Linked DNA regions of Homo sapiens: regions 1 and 3 are each linked to region 2. Evidence: promoter capture Hi-C in 16 types of primary human blood cells and fetal thymus (Javierre and others, 2016). All regions are on one chromosome and are shown on one strand. The core of a region is centred on a gene start or on the middle of the fragment in contact, and the rest is flanking DNA. Distances in the headings are between cores, read along the strand shown. Region 1 overlaps FXR2 (FMR1 autosomal homolog 2). Region 2 holds the start of DVL2 (dishevelled segment polarity protein 2). Region 3 holds the start of TNFSF13 (TNF superfamily member 13).

Region 1 (3,479 bases), core at 349-2,848, 360 kb after region 2:
CGGGTTGGGGGATCCCTGTCGCCAGGCCCAGCTCGGTTGGGCTCCTCTCTCTTCTCTGACTCAGTCTCTGAAGCTGTAGACACATCTGAGCTGGGGCCTGAAGAACACAATGGGATTTATTCACGGCCATTCATCCCACCTCAGGATCCATCACATCCCCCAAACTGGAAGAATTCTCCTTCTCACTCACAAGCCTCCCAGCCAATCAATCACTTTTTCATCATCTCCATTCCAGATTTCCCCAAACTTCCATCCAGACCTCTGCCTCTACCCACAAGCCCTGCCACTCCTTGCCTCCTGTTCCCATAACTGTCTCACCATAGGCAGGACCGCCTGTCCTCCGGCCACGGCCACGGCCCCCATAGCTGCCCCCATAGGTTCGAGTCGCATGGAGGGAGGAGGAGGAGCTCTCATCAGTGCTATATCCAGCCTTGTCGCTGCCACCGCTGCCCCGCCCACTCCCAGGAGGGCGAAAGCCCAGCCCAATCTGCCGAAGCTGCTCATCAATTTGTAGCCTCTCCAAGCGAAGCTGCTCTACCTCCTGGTTGGGTAAAAGATGGAAGAAGGGGAAGGAGAAATAAGATCAGTGCCTTGCTTCATGCTTCTGCACCCTGACTGTCCCTCTATATCTAACCTCTCAGGAATGCAGGGAGAAGGAAGACACTGGCTAAACAAGGAAAATTCTGGGACCCAACCCTATAGCCCCAAATTTCCACAGATGTTTTCTGTTCTACACGGAGAGACAAACAGAGAACCAAAATCCCTGAGCTGACCCCCACAGCAGTCTTAGTTCCCTTTTCACACCCAGCATTTTTCTCTCCCGGCCTGGGTACCTGCAGGTAGGAGAGGTGATACTCCAGCAAAGCCTGGGCATTGCTGATGTTCTCTCGGGTGCCAACAAAAATGAAGGGAACCATTCCCTAGAGAACAGAGAGCAGAAACGATGGATCAGAAAGGAAAATGAAATGGAAGGATTAACGCCGCCCAGTCTCCTAGGGGAGCCTGCCCAGTGGGATCATTCTGGGCTCTAAATCTACTAGTGTTAAACAACTTTCCGTACTCCACCCTCTCAAAGAACAATCCCAGCCCTCAGAGGACAATCCCATTTACTTCTGGAAACCAATCTCTATGCCCACTTGCCCCGTACCCATACCTCCTCCCTGGGGTTCTTCTTGTCATTATCACCTTCCACTCGAACCCTCACCACACCAGATTTATCCACAATCTCCTGGATCACTTTCCCGTTCTTTCCAATCACTTTGCCTGGAATAGGTAAATGAGGAATTCAGCCTTTTATTTTTTTTAAGGAAATAAGAATAAAGCTGATACACCGTCTTCCAGCCTCATTTTCTTTATATGGATTCCATTTACTTCATTCTCCTGCTTCTAGGTTTCTGATGTGTTTTTACAGGACAAAATGTTACAATCCCTAGAAATTTATTCTTTCATTTTTATCACTCCCATTACAGACTGTTTCTCTGTCCTTGTGAAACTGGGAGTCCACAGGGAGGTGCCAATCCTGGATAAAAGCTCAGAATCACTGTAGAGAATCTTGATTCTGACCTCTAACTGTATATACACACCACCAACTCACCAACCAGGTTCCTGGGCACTTGCACTGAGTCCTCAGAAAACTCAAGGTAGCTTCGGGCCTGTCGGCAAGCCTCGGGAGTCTAAAGGAAGAACAGCAGGGAGTTGTTACTAAAACAGAAGACCAGCTGGATGTGGTGGCTCACGCCTGTAATCCCAGCACTTTGGGAGGCTGGAGGCAGGTGGATAAATTGAGCTCAAGAGTTCAAGACTAGCCTGGGCAATATGGTGAAACGCCATCTCTACTAAAAATACAAAAATCAAAATACAAAAATACTAAAATACTAAAAATACAAAATTGGTGGCTCACGTCTCTAATCCCAGCTACTCCGGAGGCTGAGGCAGGAGATTTCTTGAACCCAGGAGGCAGAGGTTGCAATAAGCTGAGATTGTGCCACTGCACTCTAGCCCGGGCAACAGAGTGAGTTAGACTCCATCTCATAAAAAAAAAAAATTAAACAAATAAATAACTTAAAAAAAAAAACAGAGGACCTTGGCCAGGCACAGCGGCTCACACCCATAATCTCAACAGTTTCGGAGGCTAAGAAGGGAGGATTGCTTGAGGCTAGGAGTTAACAACCAGCTTGGGCAACAGAGATCTGGTCTATTTTTTTGATTTTTTGGTCTCACTCTATTGACTATGTTGCCCAGGTTGGTTCAGTGGCACCATCATGGTGTACTGCAGCCTTGACTTTCCAGGCTCAAGTGATCCTCCTGCCTCCGCCTCCCAAGTAGCCAAGTAGCTGGGGCCACAGATGCATGCCACCACGCTCAGTTAACGTTTTTTGGTTTTTGGTTTTTTTGGGGGGTAAAGACAGGGTCTCTCTATGTTGTCCAGGTTGTTCTCCAACTCCCAGGCTCAAGTGATCCTCCCCTCTATCTTCCCATTTCAGCCTCCCAAGTACCTGCGACTACAGGTACGCACCACTACTTCCAGCTAATTTTTAAATTTTTGTAGAGATTGGGTCTCACTATGTTGCACAGGCTGGTCTCAAACTCCTAGGCTCAAGTGATCCTCTCACTTTGACCTCCGAAGGTGCTGGGATTACAGGTGTGAGCCACTGTGCCCAGTTTGAGGCTTATTTTCTACTTCGGCCTCTCTTCCCTCTATCCCCTAAGAGACCCAGAAGAAAGACATCCTTTGCTGACCTCCCCATAGATGCGGAAAGTGCAGGTCTCTTCACCCAACTCAATGGCGGTCACCCCAGGTACTTTTCGGGCCTGCTGGATGTTGGCACCGTGAGTCCCAATTGCCAGTCCCATCAGGTCCTCTCGCACTGTGAACTCCTCTTGGAAGGCTGCTGCCAACTGCTTGCTTGTCTGAAAGGAAAAGTCACTGTAGGAATCATGGTGGTAGAATCTCACAGTCCCAGGCACACGACCCTTTGCATAACTTAAATAAGGAAAACTGTGTGATATTAATAGAAAGCTAGAACCACTCTGGAGTCCGCGGACCACGAGGACCTGTGTGGAAAGGTCAGGAACTTTTTGTTTTTTCTTTGAGATGGCGTCTCGCTCTGTCGCCCAGGCTGGAGTGCAGTGGCGCGATCTCAGCTCACTGCAACCTCCGCCTCTCGACTTCAAGTGATTCTCATGCCTCGGCCTCCTGAGTAGCTACGACTACAGGTGTCCACCACCATGCCTGGCTAATTTCTGTATTTTTAGTAGAGACAAGGTTTCACCATGTTGGCCAGGCTGGTCTCAAACTCCTGACCTCAGGTGATCCGCCCGCCTCAGCCTCCCAAAGTGCTGGGATTACCGGCATAAGCCACCACGCCCGGCCAAGGTCAGGAACTTTTAATTCCACTCCTTCCAAATACCAGTGGTTTGTGGGGGAGGAAAGGTAAAGAGGGCAGAGTTTGGACTGGGACACACCGAAGTTCTGGATT
Region 2 (3,212 bases), core at 548-3,047:
TTTCTAGCTAGAGTCCAGTTTGTTCAGTTCTTCTAAAACCCATGCTATCCCAACTTAATCCAGCCTGCCTTCAAAAAAGCAGAGGTTGGGCCGGGCGCGGTGGCTCACGCCTGTAATCCCAGCACTTTGGGAGGCTGAGGCGGGCGAATCACGAGGTCAGAAGTCAGAGACCAGTCTGGCTAAAACGGTGAAACCCCGTCTCTACTAAAAAATACAAAAAATTAGCCGGGTGTGGTGGCGGACGCCTGTAGTCCCAGCTACTTGGGAGGCTGAGGCAGGAGAATGGCGTGGACCCGGGAGGCAGAGCTTGCAGTGAGCTGAGAATGCGCCACTGCACTCCAGCCTGGGCGACAGAGCGAGACTGTCTCAAAAAAAAAAAAAAAAAAAAGCAGAGGTTGAGGACCCAGAAGGCTCAGCCCCAAAGACCATAAACACAAAAGGGCTTTCTCTGCATTATTTACACGCCAATCTAGTCCAAGATAGCCCTGAATGTCCCAAATTACCCTAGGATAGCCCAATCTATTCTAGCACAGCCTACAATGCCCCCACACGCAGCTGTCTGCACCAGTCTAGATTGGAACATCCCAATACGGCTGCCTGTGCTAGCACAGGCCCCAACAGCCTTGTCTGCCCCTATACCGAGTGCTCCAATAAAACCAAGTCTTGCCCCAAGAGAAACCAGGATTAACCAATACAACCCAGTAGAGTCCATAATGGCCCAAGTGTTTTTTGTTTTTTTTCTGAGACGGAGTCTCGCACTGTCGCCCAGGCTGGAGTGCAGTGGCGCGATCTCGGCTCACTGCAACCTCCGCCTCCCAGGTTCAAGAGATTCTCCCTGCTTCAGCCACCCAAGTAGCTGGGACTACAGGCGCGTGCCCCCACGCCCGGCTAATTTTTTGTATTTTTAGTTAGTAGAGATGGGGTTTCACCGTGTTAGCCAGGATGGCCTCGATCTCCTGACCTCGTGATCCGCCCGCCTCAGCCTCCCAAAGTGCTGGGATTACAGGCGTTACAGGACTCCTGAGAACGTACTAAACAACCAGACAATGGATCAATTTACTCAGTACAGACTAGAATACTCCAACATAAACCAGTATGCCCCCACCTATTCCAGTAAAGCCTAATCTTGTCTAATCTGGTTTAGGATATCCTAGTCTGTCCGTGTGCCTCAATCTATCCAAGCATAACCTTGTCCATCCTGGGATAGTCAACCTACCTCAGCATAGTACAATCTGCTCCACCATAGGCCAGAAAATCCCAGTGTGGCCCAAAGTAGACGTGTGCCCCTCCATGTCGCCCAATCCACTCTAGCAAAGCCCCCGCCGGTCCTATCTAGGCCTTGCGCTCACCCGAAATCCTGATCCATAGACTTGAAAAAGTACTTGGCGCCCGCGGGCCGCTGCAGGACGCTCTTGAAATCGCCGAGGGTGATGCGCTCGGCGGGGACAGGGATCTTCACCAGGTAGGGAGTCTCTTCCTCATCCAGGTGGTAAATCACCTTCGTCTCCCCAACCCCACCGCCCCCAGTGCTGCTACCCGCCATGGTCTCGCCCGCGCGCTCCCGGGCTCCACCGCCCACCCAAAGGGCTAATGGCCCCTGCCGCGCCTGCGCACACCCGCAAACCGACGCGCGAGCGCGGACAGGACTGACCCAGTACGGGAGAGAAGCAAAGGGGAAAAAGCACGGATCTGCGAGGGTGGCGGCGGGGGGCGGGCCGCGGGGTGCGACTCAAAGCCCCGGTCTCAGCGGCCGCCGCGCGCCACCGCCACCGACGCCGCGAGCTTCCTCCAGGTACCCGCCCACCTCTCCTCATGTCACGTGACTTAAAGGCAGCCACCCCGCGCTCCTCAGCCGCCCTCCGTCACGTGATCCCCTCCCAATCACGTGACCGTCTGACTCCGCCTAGTGCCCCCGCCACATGATCGCTGCCTTCAGCAACGGTCTCCCAGCCCCCAAACGTGTACCCCAGCCGAGGTCCTCTGAGCACCCAGGCTAAGCTGGCCTGTGCCTTCAGGAAACGGACCATCGGCTCCCACCCCGCTTTACCCCACCCACGATGGAGCACGAAGCAACTCTGACCCGCAGGAGTGTGCGTGCAGGGAGTGAAGGTGGGGACTGTGGGGGTTCCTAGACTCGAGTGGGGAGGGCCAAATACAATGAAAGCTCTAAGGTGGCTTACTTGTCTTGGGGTGGGAAAGGCCCAGTGCTGTGATATCTTCAGATTGGACTTTGAGACGTGGGTTTCAGCCCCACCTCCAGCTAGTCTTCAGCCACCAAAGCCTCCCTCCCGAGCAGGACAGTGAGGGCTATAAACACAAAAGAGCCCACTCTGCTTTATTTACAACACGCAGGCTGTCTGTACAAACAGCGGCCGATATTATTAAAAACAAAAGAGGTGAGTGAGAATCGTCACCTTTCTGCTTTCCTTCCTCACTTGGCCAGGCTCTAGTACTCCACCTTTGAGCTGCCATGCCCAATAGGGGAAGTCCAAAATTAAAAATACAACCGGTGTAGAAGAAAATAAATGGGGAGTGAAATAGAAGAAAAGATGAGGGAGGGGAGTGCTAATATTTACACTAGAGTTTTATAGACAACTGTCCCATTCCATCCCAATTCCAATCCTGACCCAGAAAGTGATGGTGGCAGGTCCAAGAGACAGAGATTATGTGTCGGGACACAGACAGCCTCCCATCCCCAACCGTAATGGATTCAATTTCAAGTCCACAGAGTGGGGAGGAAGGATAGGGTGGGAAAGTGAGACACTCATTTTCAAACAAGTCTCCCTTGAGAATTCCTGCCTTGAAGTGCAGACAGTATCCAAGCTCCAGGGGATAGGCTGAGGACCCTGAGGCTCAGTTCCCAAATCATGTTGTCATTTGGAAGTTCCAGGCTAAAGTTGGTGCCATCAGGGCTCTCCAGATTTGGGAGGCCCCCCTAACCGCCGGGCCTCTGGCCTCAGTTCCTTGCATTTCTGGCAATAAAAGAAGTCGGGGACGTTGGTCTTCTTAATCTTAGCACAGGAGAGGTGGATCCACGTCCCACACAGGCTGCACTCAATCATGGGCCGCCCTGCAAAGGGCTTTCGACAGTAACATGTGATCAGATCCCATGAGTCATCACCTGGGGAAAAAAAGGTTTGTTTGGTATTCTGCCTGAGCTGTTGGATCCACAACACCCTCAAACCCCTCGCCCCAGCCCGAACCTCTCACCT
Region 3 (3,127 bases), core at 1-2,500, 320 kb after region 2:
TCCATCCCACATAAATACAGTATTCCCACTCTTATCTTACAACTCCCCCACCGCCCACTCTCCACCTCACTAGCTCCCCAATCCCTGACCCTTTGAGGCCCCCAGTGATCTCGACTCCCCCCTGGCCACAGACCCCCAGGGCATTGTGTTCACTGTACTCTGTGGGCAAGGATGGGTCCAGAAGACCCCACTTCAGGCACTAAGAGGGGCTGGACCTGGCGGCAGGAAGCCAAAGAGACTGGGCCTAGGCCAGGAGTTCCCAAATGTGAGGGGCGAGAAACAAGACAAGCTCCTCCCTTGAGAATTCCCTGTGGATTTTTAAAACAGATATTATTTTTATTATTATTGTGACAAAATGTTGATAAATGGATATTAAATAGAATAAGTCATAGTCTCTCTCTTTATTGGGGCTCAGGGGACACTCTCAGGGTAGCTGGGGGCCACGTGAAGGGGGGCGTTGCGGAGCGGCACAGCTGGAACTCCGGGATGATGTTCAGGCTTGGGGGCGGGGACCTCCATGCCTCCAGCCCCCAGGTGGGAGCAGAGGTAGGAAGGCACACTGCCCAGGAAAAAAATCAATCCTCCGCCCAAGGTACAGCAGAAGCGGCCTCCTTGGCCTAGGAGGCAGACTTCCTCCTGCGGGGAAATCCCTTCCTGGCTGGGAGGAGCAGGGGCCCTTCCTCTTGGTGGCCTCGGACATTCAGCAGGTGCTGGCACAGGCCCTGGCTGGGAGGTGGGGCGGGCAGGAGCCAGCCTGGAGGAGGGGCTGAGAGTCAGCAGGCACACGGGAACCCGGAACCCTGTGTGCTGGGGAGGAATCCCGCAGTGGCCGGGGGGCTTGAGGCCGCTGCTTTGTCTCTTCGTCCAGAGCCTTATGTAAGAGCTTTTCTCGGGAAACAGGAAGTCCTGCTTGCCAATTTCAGCACAGGGAGTAGTGCAGGCCTTATTCCAACACACCCGGCCCAGCCTTAACCCCAGAACTCAGCCAGTTTCTTGCTTCCGTGCCCCTGGTTCTCCTCCCCATCGAGCCCACCCCTCCTTTCCCACCTTCAGTCACCCCTAGTGAACTGCCCCAGCGATCTCTGCTGTGCTTGACCCCGAGGGTCTTCCACCCTCGCCCTGACCCTGGACACTGCCCAGCTTGGCCCCCCATCCTGCTCCTGGCACAATGCCCTCTAGCCAGCCAACCTTCCCTCCCCCAACCCTGGGGCCGCCCCAGGGTTCCTGCGCACTGCCTGTTCCTCCTGGGTGTCACTGGCAGCCCTGTCCTTCCTAGAGGGACTGGAACCTAATTCTCCTGAGGCTGAGGGAGGGTGGAGGGTCTCAAGGCAACGCTGGCCCCACGACGGAGTGCCAGGAGCACTAACAGTACCCTTAGCTTGCTTTCCTCCTCCCTCCTTTTTATTTTCAAGTTCCTTTTTATTTCTCCTTGCGTAACAACCTTCTTCCCTTCTGCACCACTGCCCGTACCCTTACCCGCCCCGCCACCTCCTTGCTACCCCACTCTTGAAACCACAGCTGTTGGCAGGGTCCCCAGCTCATGCCAGCCTCATCTCCTTTCTTGCTAGCCCCCAAAGGGCCTCCAGGCAACATGGGGGGCCCAGTCAGAGAGCCGGCACTCTCAGTTGCCCTCTGGTTGAGTTGGGGGGCAGCTCTGGGGGCCGTGGCTTGTGCCATGGCTCTGCTGACCCAACAAACAGAGCTGCAGAGCCTCAGGAGAGAGGTGAGCCGGCTGCAGGGGACAGGAGGCCCCTCCCAGAATGGGGAAGGGTATCCCTGGCAGAGTCTCCCGGAGCAGGTGAGTGAGGGGAGGAGGGTGTCTGGGAGAGGATGGTTAGCATGGGGGGTCTCTGGGCCTCCTGGTCTGCAAAGTTTCAAGGGGGTGCAAGAGAGGGTCTCCGGTTTGGAAGTCAGGGGCGCGGCCATTCCAGGAAAGGAAACTGTTAAAGGTTAATGCTTCTCATACCTAACAAATCCTGGAGGGCAGCCAGCACCAACACTCAGGGTGCTGGGAAAAGGTGCGTGAGAGATCTGAGGCATCTCGGGGGCAGGGGAGGGCTGGGAAGGCAGGCTGGCTGGGACCCTCGCATCTTAACCTAACCTTGACCCTCTTTCCATGAGCAGAGTTCCGATGCCCTGGAAGCCTGGGAGAATGGGGAGAGATCCCGGAAAAGGAGAGCAGTGCTCACCCAAAAACAGAAGAGTGAGGCTTCCAGGGTGCAGCAGGGGTGGGAGGTGATCAAGCAGCGTGGGGATTGTAAGCCCGAGTCAGGGTGAGGGTGGAGGCTGCCAACAGCACAACGGGGGAAAGTGGATGCGGCTGAGATTCCCTCCTTCTCTCCTCAGAGCAGCACTCTGTCCTGCACCTGGTTCCCATTAACGCCACCTCCAAGGGTGAGCACTATTTTAAATAATGGCTTTGGGGAGGGGCAATAACCAGGAACTCGGGCTGGCACTTGGGCTCAAGGGGTCCTTATAGGTGAAAGGGAAAGAACCAAAAAGCACCTGAGAGTGCCAAGAAGTCCTGACCGACACACTCTCACCTCCAGATGACTCCGATGTGACAGAGGTGATGTGGCAACCAGCTCTTAGGCGTGGGAGAGGCCTACAGGCCCAAGGATATGGTGTCCGAATCCAGGATGCTGGAGTTTATCTGCTGTATAGCCAGGTAACCCCAGCCACACTCTGAGCTTCACAGAGGGCCTCTTTGGCCCCCTACTGAGGGTTCCTGACCCCTCTATTCATACCAAACCCAGCAGACCCTTCTTTCTTCCCTCGTTAGCGCTCCTGAGGCCTCCCAGAACTGAGCCAGGCCATCCTGTTTTCTTCAACATCTCCCTTCCCTGCCAGGTCCTGTTTCAAGACGTGACTTTCACCATGGGTCAGGTGGTGTCTCGAGAAGGCCAAGGAAGGCAGGAGACTCTATTCCGATGTATAAGAAGTATGCCCTCCCACCCGGACCGGGCCTACAACAGCTGCTATAGCGCAGGTGAGAGCCGTGTGGGCAGCCGAAAGCAGGACGTCTCTGACCGGGGGTAGCAGTGCAGGGAGCTACCGCTAGGAGGGAGGTTGGAAACCTAAACAGAGGCGGGTCTGAGGAGTGAAGTGCAGAATGCCGGGTCCTTAC

What was found. Contacts are between HindIII fragments. The CHiCAGO score rates a contact against its expected background, and 5 or more counts as called.
Region 1: a contact is called between a fragment that was not itself captured here and the fragment with the promoter of DVL2 in region 2, in 10 of 17 cell types (total B cells, naive B cells, non-activated CD4 T cells and 7 more). The highest score is 8.1, in total B cells.
Region 3: a contact is called between the fragment with the promoter of TNFSF13 here and the fragment with the promoter of DVL2 in region 2, in 6 of 17 cell types (naive B cells, fetal thymus, non-activated CD4 T cells and 3 more). The highest score is 6.4, in naive B cells.

The regions. Positions count from the first base shown.
Region 1 is chr17:7,593,085-7,596,563 of GRCh38, forward strand. It overlaps FXR2 (FMR1 autosomal homolog 2), which reads right to left. Exons shown (of 17, transcript NM_004860.4): 8 at 2,740-2,910; 9 at 1,595-1,673; 10 at 1,154-1,263; 11 at 834-920; 12 at 319-541; 13 at 1-97. Among named protein-coding and RNA genes, the nearest start is that of SOX15, 4.7 kb to the left of the region's middle. The HindIII fragment of the contact is 5,554 bases long and covers 1-3,479 here.
Region 2 is chr17:7,232,720-7,235,931 of GRCh38, forward strand. DVL2 (dishevelled segment polarity protein 2) reads right to left here and starts at 1,798. Exons shown (of 15, transcript NM_004422.3): 1 at 1,350-1,798. The coding sequence starts at 1,543. It overlaps PHF23 (PHD finger protein 23), which reads right to left. Exons shown (of 5, transcript NM_024297.3): 4 at 3,211-3,212; 5 at 2,319-3,121. The coding sequence ends at 2,907. RefSeq lists a silencer at 1,536-1,835 and an enhancer at 1,946-1,995. The HindIII fragment of the contact is 14,867 bases long and covers 1-3,212 here.
Region 3 is chr17:7,557,500-7,560,626 of GRCh38, forward strand. It overlaps TNFSF13 (TNF superfamily member 13), which reads left to right and starts at 1,251. Exons shown (of 6, transcript NM_003808.4): 1 at 1,251-1,798; 2 at 2,125-2,203; 3 at 2,347-2,394; 4 at 2,550-2,668; 5 at 2,851-2,989. The coding sequence starts at 1,541. TNFSF12-TNFSF13 (TNFSF12-TNFSF13 readthrough) reads left to right here. Exons shown (of 11, transcript NM_172089.4): 7 at 2,125-2,203; 8 at 2,347-2,394; 9 at 2,550-2,668; 10 at 2,851-2,989. TNFSF12 (TNF superfamily member 12) reads left to right here. Exons shown (of 7, transcript NM_003809.3): 7 at 1-382. RefSeq lists enhancers at 1-794, 380-439, 1,250-1,299. The HindIII fragment of the contact is 8,242 bases long and covers 1-3,127 here.